2 separate regions of the Homo sapiens genome follow, and region 1 is linked to region 2. The links are contacts of gene promoters, found by promoter capture Hi-C in blood cells and fetal thymus (Javierre and others, 2016). All regions are on one chromosome and are shown on one strand. Each heading gives the region's core, a stretch centred on a gene start or on the middle of the fragment in contact. The rest is flanking DNA. Distances are from core to core; before and after follow the strand shown. Region 1 overlaps DMRTA1 (DMRT like family A1). Region 2 holds the start of CDKN2A-AS1 (CDKN2A antisense RNA 1).

Region 1 (5,104 bases), core at 2,368-4,867, 480 kb before region 2:
GTAATAACAGTGAGAGTTATTTATTTAGCATCCCGTATATAAGCATTACTGTACTCTGCCGTTTATTTAAGCTTTTATCTCCACGAATCTTGCAAGTTAAATATTATTACCCTTGTTTTGCTGAGAAGAAATAAATGTCCAAAGAGTATAAGTAACCTGTCCAAGTCATATAGATAAATCCATTCTAGGTTTCCTCAATTCCAAAACAATTGCTTCTTCTAGAAAGACATATTGGTATTTACCTTATAGGAATTGTACTAATATTTGTCTTCAGTGTTCTCCCATATCCTCTTTAAGCCCCACTCATGCCTATATACCTTACACTAACCTCTGTCAGTTTTATTCCCTTGTAAGTCACGCACTGCGTTCTATGTCTTTCTTTTCTGCCTACTCTCAGGAGGCTATCACATAGGCAAAATTCTGATGAGCAAAACTGCACTGTGTTTTATTGATAAATAATGGTAGGGTGTTTTAATTTTCATGGCCTTAGAATTGAAATTCCATGACTTATTTATTTAACAAATACTTTCCATGTTTCTAATGAGCTACAAAATGATTCAGTCCCAATATTAAAGCAGTAATTAAAAATCCCATCAATCAGGCTCTGATTGGTATTTTCTACATGCATTTTTCAATGAGTTCCAGATGCTTTATCATACGAGGCAGCCACTACACTCTTGGACAGCTGTTAACTGTGAAAAAAGTCATTCCTTATGTTCTTCTGAATACTCTATGAAATGTTTGCCTCTTAGGCCCTCTATATGATACAGAATAAACCCAATTCATTTTTGTTATATGCTAGCTCTTAAAGCATTTACCCCCTCTTTCTTCCCACCACTAATTAGTGGCTTAGGAGTTCAGGCTTCAAGCAGCATCCATGGATATAAATATCAAGATTACAAAGAACTCATTGATGTACCAACACTGTCAAATAATACCAACATTGGTTGATTGGTTGTTTTTGTACACACAATATAGACCGTGAGCAACTTGAGGCAAAGTCTTGTATCTTAATCATTTCTTTATCTCTTGTGTCTAACACAGTGCATGGCACAAATAGATTATTAAAAATATTAAATAGGTGTTGAATGAAGAAATTATTAAGCTAATACTTGCTTTTATTTTTTTTCAGTCAGTGGAAATCTAGTGTATAGGTTGAGAACCTATATCAGACACTGTTCAAGGCCATGAATGAAAAAAACAGACATGAATCCTTCCTCAGACATTGGAGTCTGAAATTGCTGAAGTGAGCACAGTAATTCCACTGCAGATGACTCATATTACTAACCTTAGGGAGAAAAAACCCTACTGCTGAGCCCCAATTTCCTCATATACTACTGAGTTGTTAGACAAATGACCTATTTGATAAGATTAAGTCCTTAAATTATTATAAAGAGTATGGAATGTGTAAGGCATTATATAAATTAAGTTTTATGATTATAAAACTATTTTATAAATTCGAATACTGCCCAAAATGGATGTTCTCCCAAGGTCAAAAGCAATTCAGTTTCTCAGATACAAGCACATCATTATAAAACCACATACATAATGCAGTAACTCTAGGATTTTTTTTTAAACCATATCTCTATTGTATAATGTAACTTCCTTTAGAGCACAATATTTTACATTCAGTATCCTCTACAGGATCTAGCACTTTTCAGAAAAATAGCATTCAATAAGTGGATTAATGCAATAGAAACAACTGAAGAATCACCAAGGAATCTAACCTGAATACCATTTAGGAGATTCAAGAACCCAGTGAAATTGTATGCAAAACTGTGTGTCTGTACGCCATTTTGTAGAGTTCTTCAGTTTTATCAGAGTCTCAAAGAGATCTATTATATATAAGAGTTTCTTACTCAGTATATATGAATTGAATTTCAACTACTTGCTAGACATTGTACTACGGTTTAGGCTTAGAATATAAAACTTTTTTATAATAAATGAATATTGAGTACATCGAAATTTTTCAAGATCTGCTTTCTTATATTCACACCATTAAAATTAATGCATAACCTAATAAACACATTTACATCCTAAATCAGCATCAGATACTCTGAAGTAATTTAATATCACATTTGCTGGCAAAATATTCCTTGGAAATACATTCTTACTGGCTTCATGAAAAACGCCTCCATGATAATATAACCTATAGGGGTTTAATGTATGTCTACATAGACTTATATATGTGCATATAGATGCATACACACATACGTATATACATATAATTTAAAAAATCTTTAGTGAGTCATGCTGCTTAAATAGTTTAAACAATCTCTAATTCATCAACTATCTTTTACCACCAGTGGGCTTCCATTTATTCCTAATAATAACAATGAAGCTACTGTCCTTCAAAAAAGAAAAATGATGACATACAAAGAAAATGTCCTAGAAACTGTTTTGTAAGCAGTTTCCTCAGGGACTTTCCACTGACTGAAATAAATAGTTTTCAAATGCGCCAGAGGGAGGACAAAAATTATTTTTAAAATTGCAAGAATACCTCTGAAACTTCATGGCAGTTTTTCCCCTTTGGAAATCTTATATCTCTCCTCAGTGCATTAAGCATCAACTATCTGCAGTTAATAAATATTTATTTGAGCAGCTATTTTAGTTTTCTGAATAAAATTATTCTTACCTTTGAGAATGGCTGCCATATATTCTTGTCCCAAACTTTTAAGGATATTTCCCCAGATACAGACATAAGCACACTTAAAGACTGCAACTCTCATCCACAGTAGATGTGCACTTTACAGTATGGAAATTTTAATGTAGTATAATCCAAAATGACTATTTGAAAAAAAAATGGTTATTCTCCGGAATCAATGTTTCTAATTCATATACTCTACAGAGCTCAGTTGCAATTGGCGATAGTGGCCAGGAGATGGCGCAGTCTTATTTCCTAAAATTTACTTCATAGACACAGTGTCAACTTTAAAGAGAAATGTTTTTTAATGGCACTTGTTTTCACTCATGGAAGCTAAGATTGAAAAATAAAATACTCAGGAAATATAAATTCAAAATGCTCAAATGTTTTATTTATTACGAATCACCCATCTGCAAATCAAATGCTTTAAAAATACTTTGAATAACTTTTTTCTTTCCTATGAACCAGGAATAGAAGAAACAGTTTTGAAATGGTAATTATTTAGAATTGCCTTAATTGTTCAGTTCTTCCTTTCGGTTTATATTCTATTCTATTATGCTGTATTGCTTTACACTTACAAATGTATTTTATCACTAAAAATTCCACTTTTCAATAAAATAAAAACTAGTTTTAAAATAAAAATGTTTACAAATGATAATTTAGGGAGAAAATTCATTAAATATTTCCTGAAATAGCTTTATTCAAGGCACATATAATGTTCAGATTTACTTCTTTCACTTGATAAATCCTAATGAAGAGTTTTCAGATCTAAGACCTATTATATTGCTTGAAAAAAAAAAAACCCAGCATTTTAAGACCTCATAATCCACTCACATACTTACTGAAGTATATTAATGGATGTGTGTGTATGTGTGTGCACGTGCATGTATTGTATGCTGGAAAAACTCCAGAAAGAGAGAATGGGCATATACATTACGGATTGTCCTGATTTGGTCTGAAGTACAGTCTGCCACAAGTTATTGAGTCTTTACTGGAAAGGTAGGAAGAATCTCTAATCATCCCTGAAAAGGCATAATCCAAAGCTGGCCGAAAAGGTAAGGTTGGTACTAACCCAGGTGTTAGGTAGGGTGACATAAAACCAGATAACCCTCTTCCTGCAGAAGAATATGCCAGCCTTAATGGACTGATACCTACTCTAGGATTTACGCCGTAGAGACTTGAATCACCTCCATAAGAAGCAGAAGTAGTTTGAAGAGGAGAGAAAGCTGATTTATTACCTAGAGTTCCAAAACCAATTCCAGCAAGACTAAAACTTGAAGCTCTCTGAAAGGCTGTGTTTTCCAGTTCTTCTGAGTTTGCTAGGTTCCTGTTGTCTGGCTTGTGTTCTTTGCCATTTAAAACCTGTTCAATGGCTTGGACCACATCCCCTTTGCAGAACCGTAGAATGCCTTCTAGCCGGCTGCGCCTGTAATTTGGGAAAATCTTAGTAAGGATATCAAGAGGATCTCTTGGTCTTGAGGACACTGTCGGAAGGCTTGCCTTGGTCGCAGTCAAGTCTTTGACCCATTCACTTTCATTTCCTGATTCCAGATCAGAGGATGATAAGGACCTGGGACTCTCTTCACCTCCTGATTGCTCTCCAGGATGAGGAGACAGGATACTATCAGGCTTGTTGGAGTATTCTGAAATAGATGACCCGATACTTTGTTTCCCAATGACACCATTAGACCTAGAAGATGATCCTAGGTAAAGCTGATGGGATTTGGAGATCAGTTCTTCTTGTCCATTCTGGCATGACTCACATTTACTCTCTTTTTGTTCTGGAGAAGAGGGGGAAAAAAAAATCAAATACAGGGAAGACTTCCCAGAATGTGGTACTGCTCACTCAAAAATAATGCTGGATAATATAATTAATTCACTCCTATTAATTAGTAATATTTATACACTCCAAGACATTTTAATGAATAACTCAAATTTAAAAGATTATTCAGAAATGCAGGTGCTGGAATAGTGAAAAGTATACTATTATATCATCTCAGAATCACAAAGGTATGCAATATTAAAATGCAATTATATTTAGGAATCAGAAGATGAGAGTGTATTGTTACCCCAAATTGTCTGCATAACACCAATATGGCACACTGTCTGTTCTATCTTGGTTGTGTGGGATCTTCCTAAATGTCACCTAAGTTTTGTTGTTATCTAAGTGATATTTTTTCAGAATGACACTATGGAAAGAGAACTGAATAAAATGAATAAGGAATAAAAGGAATAATCTTAGTTTGAAAATGAATATTCTATTTAATCACTAATGCTAAATTTTAACAATTGGTTTTTTATCTCATATTTCAGGTTATAATTAATTTACTTGAATAATGTAAAAAAAAACTGTTCATTTCATTTCAGATTTAAACCAATAAGTACTATTGCTATGTCAATCCCAAATCATACTAGAGCTTGCATATTTCATTTTATGAGAGATGACACAGACGGTATTTT
Region 2 (4,696 bases), core at 1-2,500:
GGCGGGTACATGCACGTGAAGCCATTGCGAGAACTTTATCCATAAGTATTTCAATGCCGGTAGGGACGGCAAGAGAGGAGGGCGGGATGTGCCACACATCTTTGACCTCAGGTTTCTAACGCCTGTTTTCTTTCTGCCCTCTGCAGACATCCCCGATTGAAAGAACCAGAGAGGCTCTGAGAAACCTCGGGAAACTTAGATCATCAGTCACCGAAGGTCCTACAGGGCCACAACTGCCCCCGCCACAACCCACCCCGCTTTCGTAGTTTTCATTTAGAAAATAGAGCTTTTAAAAATGTCCTGCCTTTTAACGTAGATATATGCCTTCCCCCACTACCGTAAATGTCCATTTATATCATTTTTTATATATTCTTATAAAAATGTAAAAAAGAAAAACACCGCTTCTGCCTTTTCACTGTGTTGGAGTTTTCTGGAGTGAGCACTCACGCCCTAAGCGCACATTCATGTGGGCATTTCTTGCGAGCCTCGCAGCCTCCGGAAGCTGTCGACTTCATGACAAGCATTTTGTGAACTAGGGAAGCTCAGGGGGGTTACTGGCTTCTCTTGAGTCACACTGCTAGCAAATGGCAGAACCAAAGCTCAAATAAAAATAAAATAATTTTCATTCATTCACTCATTTATTGTCAACATTTATTGAGCACCTATTACAACAATTTCATCGCATGGAAGACAGCATCGTTTCTGACACTGTTGTTTCATGTATCTCTTAGAAAAACGCTGCTATTAGACATCTAACACTATTTATCTTGAGGTGATAAAATATCAAAAGCCGTGTCTCAAGATCGATGAAATGCGGTTAAAATGATGAATAGAAACTCTAGGGGGACCTCATATCGATAGACTCGAGACTGGCACATCTGGAGATCCGTATTTATCCGGCTTCCCCTTCCAGATCACGCGAGGTTTGGGATATTTTGCTCACCAGGCCTCAGCCAGGTAACTGAATCCAGCCAACCCTGGCCCATAGTCTCGGAATCCGACTCGGCTCCCAGTCCCCGCCTCGGCGTTCTGAGACCCCCAGGCTGGGGTTCCAGAGGGCTGTGAGGTTGCGAATGACTGCTGCCAAACCGGAAGGAACTCTGCGGTTCTCTGCCACAGTGGGATTGTTGCAGGCACGCGGCTCAGACTTCACTGAGGTTGGGAGATGCTCCTGTCCACGCTGCCTCATCCCGTGCTGGAGCACTGCACCTCTATTTTTTTTTTTAGGGTACACGCCACATAACATAAAACTAAAAATTTTAAAGAGTAGAATTCAGTGGCATTTAGTACAATGTTATGCAACCATCACTCCTATCTAGCCCAAAACATTTTCGTCAACTGCATAGGAGGCCCCATTAAGCATACCTGTTAAACTCTTCTTGCCTCCAACTCCTGGCAACTACAAAACTCCTTTTGTCTCTATGGATTTACCTATTCTGAATATTTCTTATAAATGGGATCATACAATATGTGACCTTCCGTGTCTGGCTTCTTTCACCAAGTGTAGTGTTTTGGGGGTTCATTCCTGCTGCAGCATGTATCAGTACCTCATTTCATTTTATGGCTGAATCATATTCCATTGTATGAATATACTGGAAATTGCTCGTCTACTCATCCAGTGATGAACATCGAGTTGTTTTTTGGCTTAAAATTATTCATAGTGTTCTCATATAAATATAAATATGTAATTATTATTTTTATCCATATTTATTACATTATTTATATTTTTATATTTTTATTGTATTATAATAATTTTATAATATTATACTATGATAATATAACAGACTGACTCCTATGGTCTGTCAGTGTGCTCTTCCACTGGCGTGCTCCCTTCCGCTGGGGTGCCCCGCTCCACGTCCAGTTCCTCCGATGAGTTCCTCTGGACATAGAGCCGCTTGTGTGTCTGCCTGCTAGGGTCTCAGGGTTTTCATAGGCAAAGGATGGGGGCGTGGCGGGACAGGGTGGTCTTGGGATATGCAACATTTGGGCGTGAAGGAAGGAGTGCCTGTCCTCACCTAGGTCCAGTGGGCACAGGCCCAGGGGAGGGCCCTTACCAGGGACCCGCCTTTGTCTACCCAACACTTCCCTGCCCCTCTTCTCTATCATTGCGTTTCAGTTACCTTTGCCTTGGTTCAGCACTCACTTGGTTGCTGTAAAACTTTCTTACTGTTTCCCAGAGTTCCCACGAAGTCAATTCTGGCAGCTTTTGCTTATTTTTCTGTGTTTCTATATAGGAATGGGCCCTGCGAGCTCACTACTGTGCCACTTTTGCTATTATCTTTTGTTGTTGTTGTTGTTCAATTTGTTTTGTTTTAGGGCAGGATGGTCAAATGCTTATGATGTGCCAATTTCCTGCCTCCATATATCTCCTGTGCCTGGTACGCAGTGCCCATGCCCGGCATCCTCACTTTCTGGGCATCTGTCTGTCAACATTTCTCTGAAGCTCGCTAGCTCTACCACTCAGCTGTCCCCCTGAAAATTTTCTCCACCTTCCCCCGCAGCTGTAGGAAGCTCACCTTCCTCCTTACCCTTCCTCAACCCCACTCCTGTTCTCTCCCTTTTTCCCCCTTCCACCCCCATTTCCCCGACTTCTGCTGGGGGTGGGAGGGATAACCGATTCACAGACATTCCCCTCCCCCTCGCCGCTTCTCGGGAGATTGCTGGTTCGCAGTCCTACGCTCCACTCGCCAGCAGGCTCCGCTGTGGTGTGAGCACCTCCGGGAGCGCAAAGGCGTCCGCTTTGAGGCACTGGGCCTCGGGCCAGGCAGAGGCTATCTCCGGGACCCTTTTATGGAGATCTGCTGTTAAAGCCCACGCGTGTTTCCCGAGCACACTGAGCACACGCATACTGGGCCTGACGACTCCAGGGAGGGACCTGCTCCGGAACCGCGGACTAGACCCGGGTCCCAGAACTACCCGTGGAGGAGGCCGCAGTAACCTCCGAAGCAGGCTGAGAGACTCGGGTGGGCTTTCTCCAGTGAAAAAAAAGAAGCCAGAGGGGAAGGGTAGATGGAGCAGGAAAGAAGGACGGATTCTAAGCATGGCTGTTCGAGGCCCTGAGGCTGCAGAACTGACTGCGGGACTGCGGTTTGGAGGCGGGGACTTTCCAAAACCACGGACGAAAGAAACCTCCCAACCAACCGATTAAGCACGGGGGCTGTGGAGCAGAAGGGCAATAAAAGGCCCTGCCCACCGAAACCTGTAAAAGTTTCCTTTGTAAGCACGCGTCACGAGCGCGGGTGACGAGGCCCAGGCGCGCCCGGGTGCGGCGACCTCGGAGCCCGCGGGACGGGAGAGCAGCCCTTCCTTTGGCCGGGCCTCCAGCACCAAAACTGGCTGGGATCCTTCCTGGGGCCCACGCCAGTGCCACACCCCAAGTACTCTGGATGCAGGCCAGGTGGGAGGGTCTTCACCTCCACCTCCTTCCAGATCTCACGTGTCTCATTTACGTAATAAAGTTCAGGAAATAGCAGAAAACAACTTTTTTTTTTTTTTTTTTTTTTTTGAGACGGAGTCTTTCTCTGTCGCCCAGGCTGGAGTGCAGTGGTGCGATCTCGGCTCACTGCAACCTCCGCCTCCCGGGTGCAAGCGATTCTCCTGCCTCAGCCTCCTCAGTAGCTGAGATTACAGGCGCCCGCCACAACACCTTTTTAGTAGAGACGGATTTTCACCATTTTGGCCAGGCTGATCTCGAACTCCTGACCTCAAGTGGTCCGCCCTCCTCGACCTCCCAAAGTGTTGGGATTACAGGCCTTAGCCACCGTGCCGGTCCAGAAAAGCACATTTAAAAACTACAGATTGATATCCTTGTTGGGCATTGATGCTAAAATCCTTAACAAAATACTAGCTAACAGAATCCAACAACATATCAAAAAATAATCCACCATGACATGATCAAGTGGGTTTCATACCAGGAATGTAGGGATGATTTAACATATGTGATACACCACGAAAACAGAATTAAAAACAAAACATCACATGATCATCTCAATAGATGCAGAAAAAGCATTTGACAAAATTCAGCATCCTGTTATGATTAAAACTCTCAGCAAAATTGGCATACAAGGGACATACCTTAATGTAATAAAAGCCATCTATGAAAACCCACAGCCAACATAATACTGAATGGGAAAAGTTGAAAGCATTTCCTCTGAAAACTGGAACAAGGATGCCCACTCTCACCACTCCTCTTCAACATAGTACTGGAAGTTCTAGCCAGAGCAATCAGATGAGAGAGAAAAATAAAAAGGGTATCCAAATCAGTAAAAAGGAAGTCAAACTGTCACTGTTTGCTGATGATATGATCGTTTACCTTGAAAACCCTAAGGACTCCTCCAGAAAGCTACTAGAATTGATAAAAGAATTCAGCAAAGTTTCTGGATACAAGATTAGTGTATACAAATCAGTAGCTCTTCTATACACAAACAGCGACCAAGCAGAAAATCAAATCAAGAACTTAACCCCTTTTACAGTAGCGGCAAAAAAAAAAAAAAAAAAATCAAATCAAATCAAATACTTAGGAATATGCCTTACCAGGGAGTCAAAAGACCTCTACAAGAAAAACTACAAAACACTGCTGAAACAAATAATAGACAACATACAAATGGAAACATATCCCATGCTCATGGATGAGCAGAATCAATATTGTGAAAATGACCATACCGCCAAAAAAATCTACAAATTCAATGCAATCCCC

What was found. Contacts are between HindIII fragments. The CHiCAGO score rates a contact against its expected background, and 5 or more counts as called.
Region 1: a fragment that was not itself captured here is called in contact with the fragment with the promoter of CDKN2A-AS1 in region 2 in 3 of 17 cell types (M0 macrophages, naive B cells and total B cells); the score reaches 5.6 in M0 macrophages.

The regions. Positions count from the first base shown.
Region 1 is chr9:22,450,385-22,455,488 of GRCh38, reverse strand. DMRTA1 (DMRT like family A1) reads right to left here. Exons shown (of 2, transcript NM_022160.3): 2 at 1-4,425. The coding sequence ends at 3,578. Among named protein-coding and RNA genes, the nearest start is that of DMRTA1, 6.1 kb to the right of the region's middle. The HindIII fragment of the contact is 7,087 bases long and covers 74-5,104 here.
Region 2 is chr9:21,963,693-21,968,388 of GRCh38, reverse strand. CDKN2A-AS1 (CDKN2A antisense RNA 1) reads right to left here and starts at 1,250. Exons shown (of 1, transcript NR_024274.1): 1 at 635-1,250. CDKN2A (cyclin dependent kinase inhibitor 2A) reads left to right here. Exons shown (of 3, transcript NM_000077.5): 3 at 147-637. The coding sequence ends at 160. The HindIII fragment of the contact is 10,554 bases long and covers 1-4,696 here.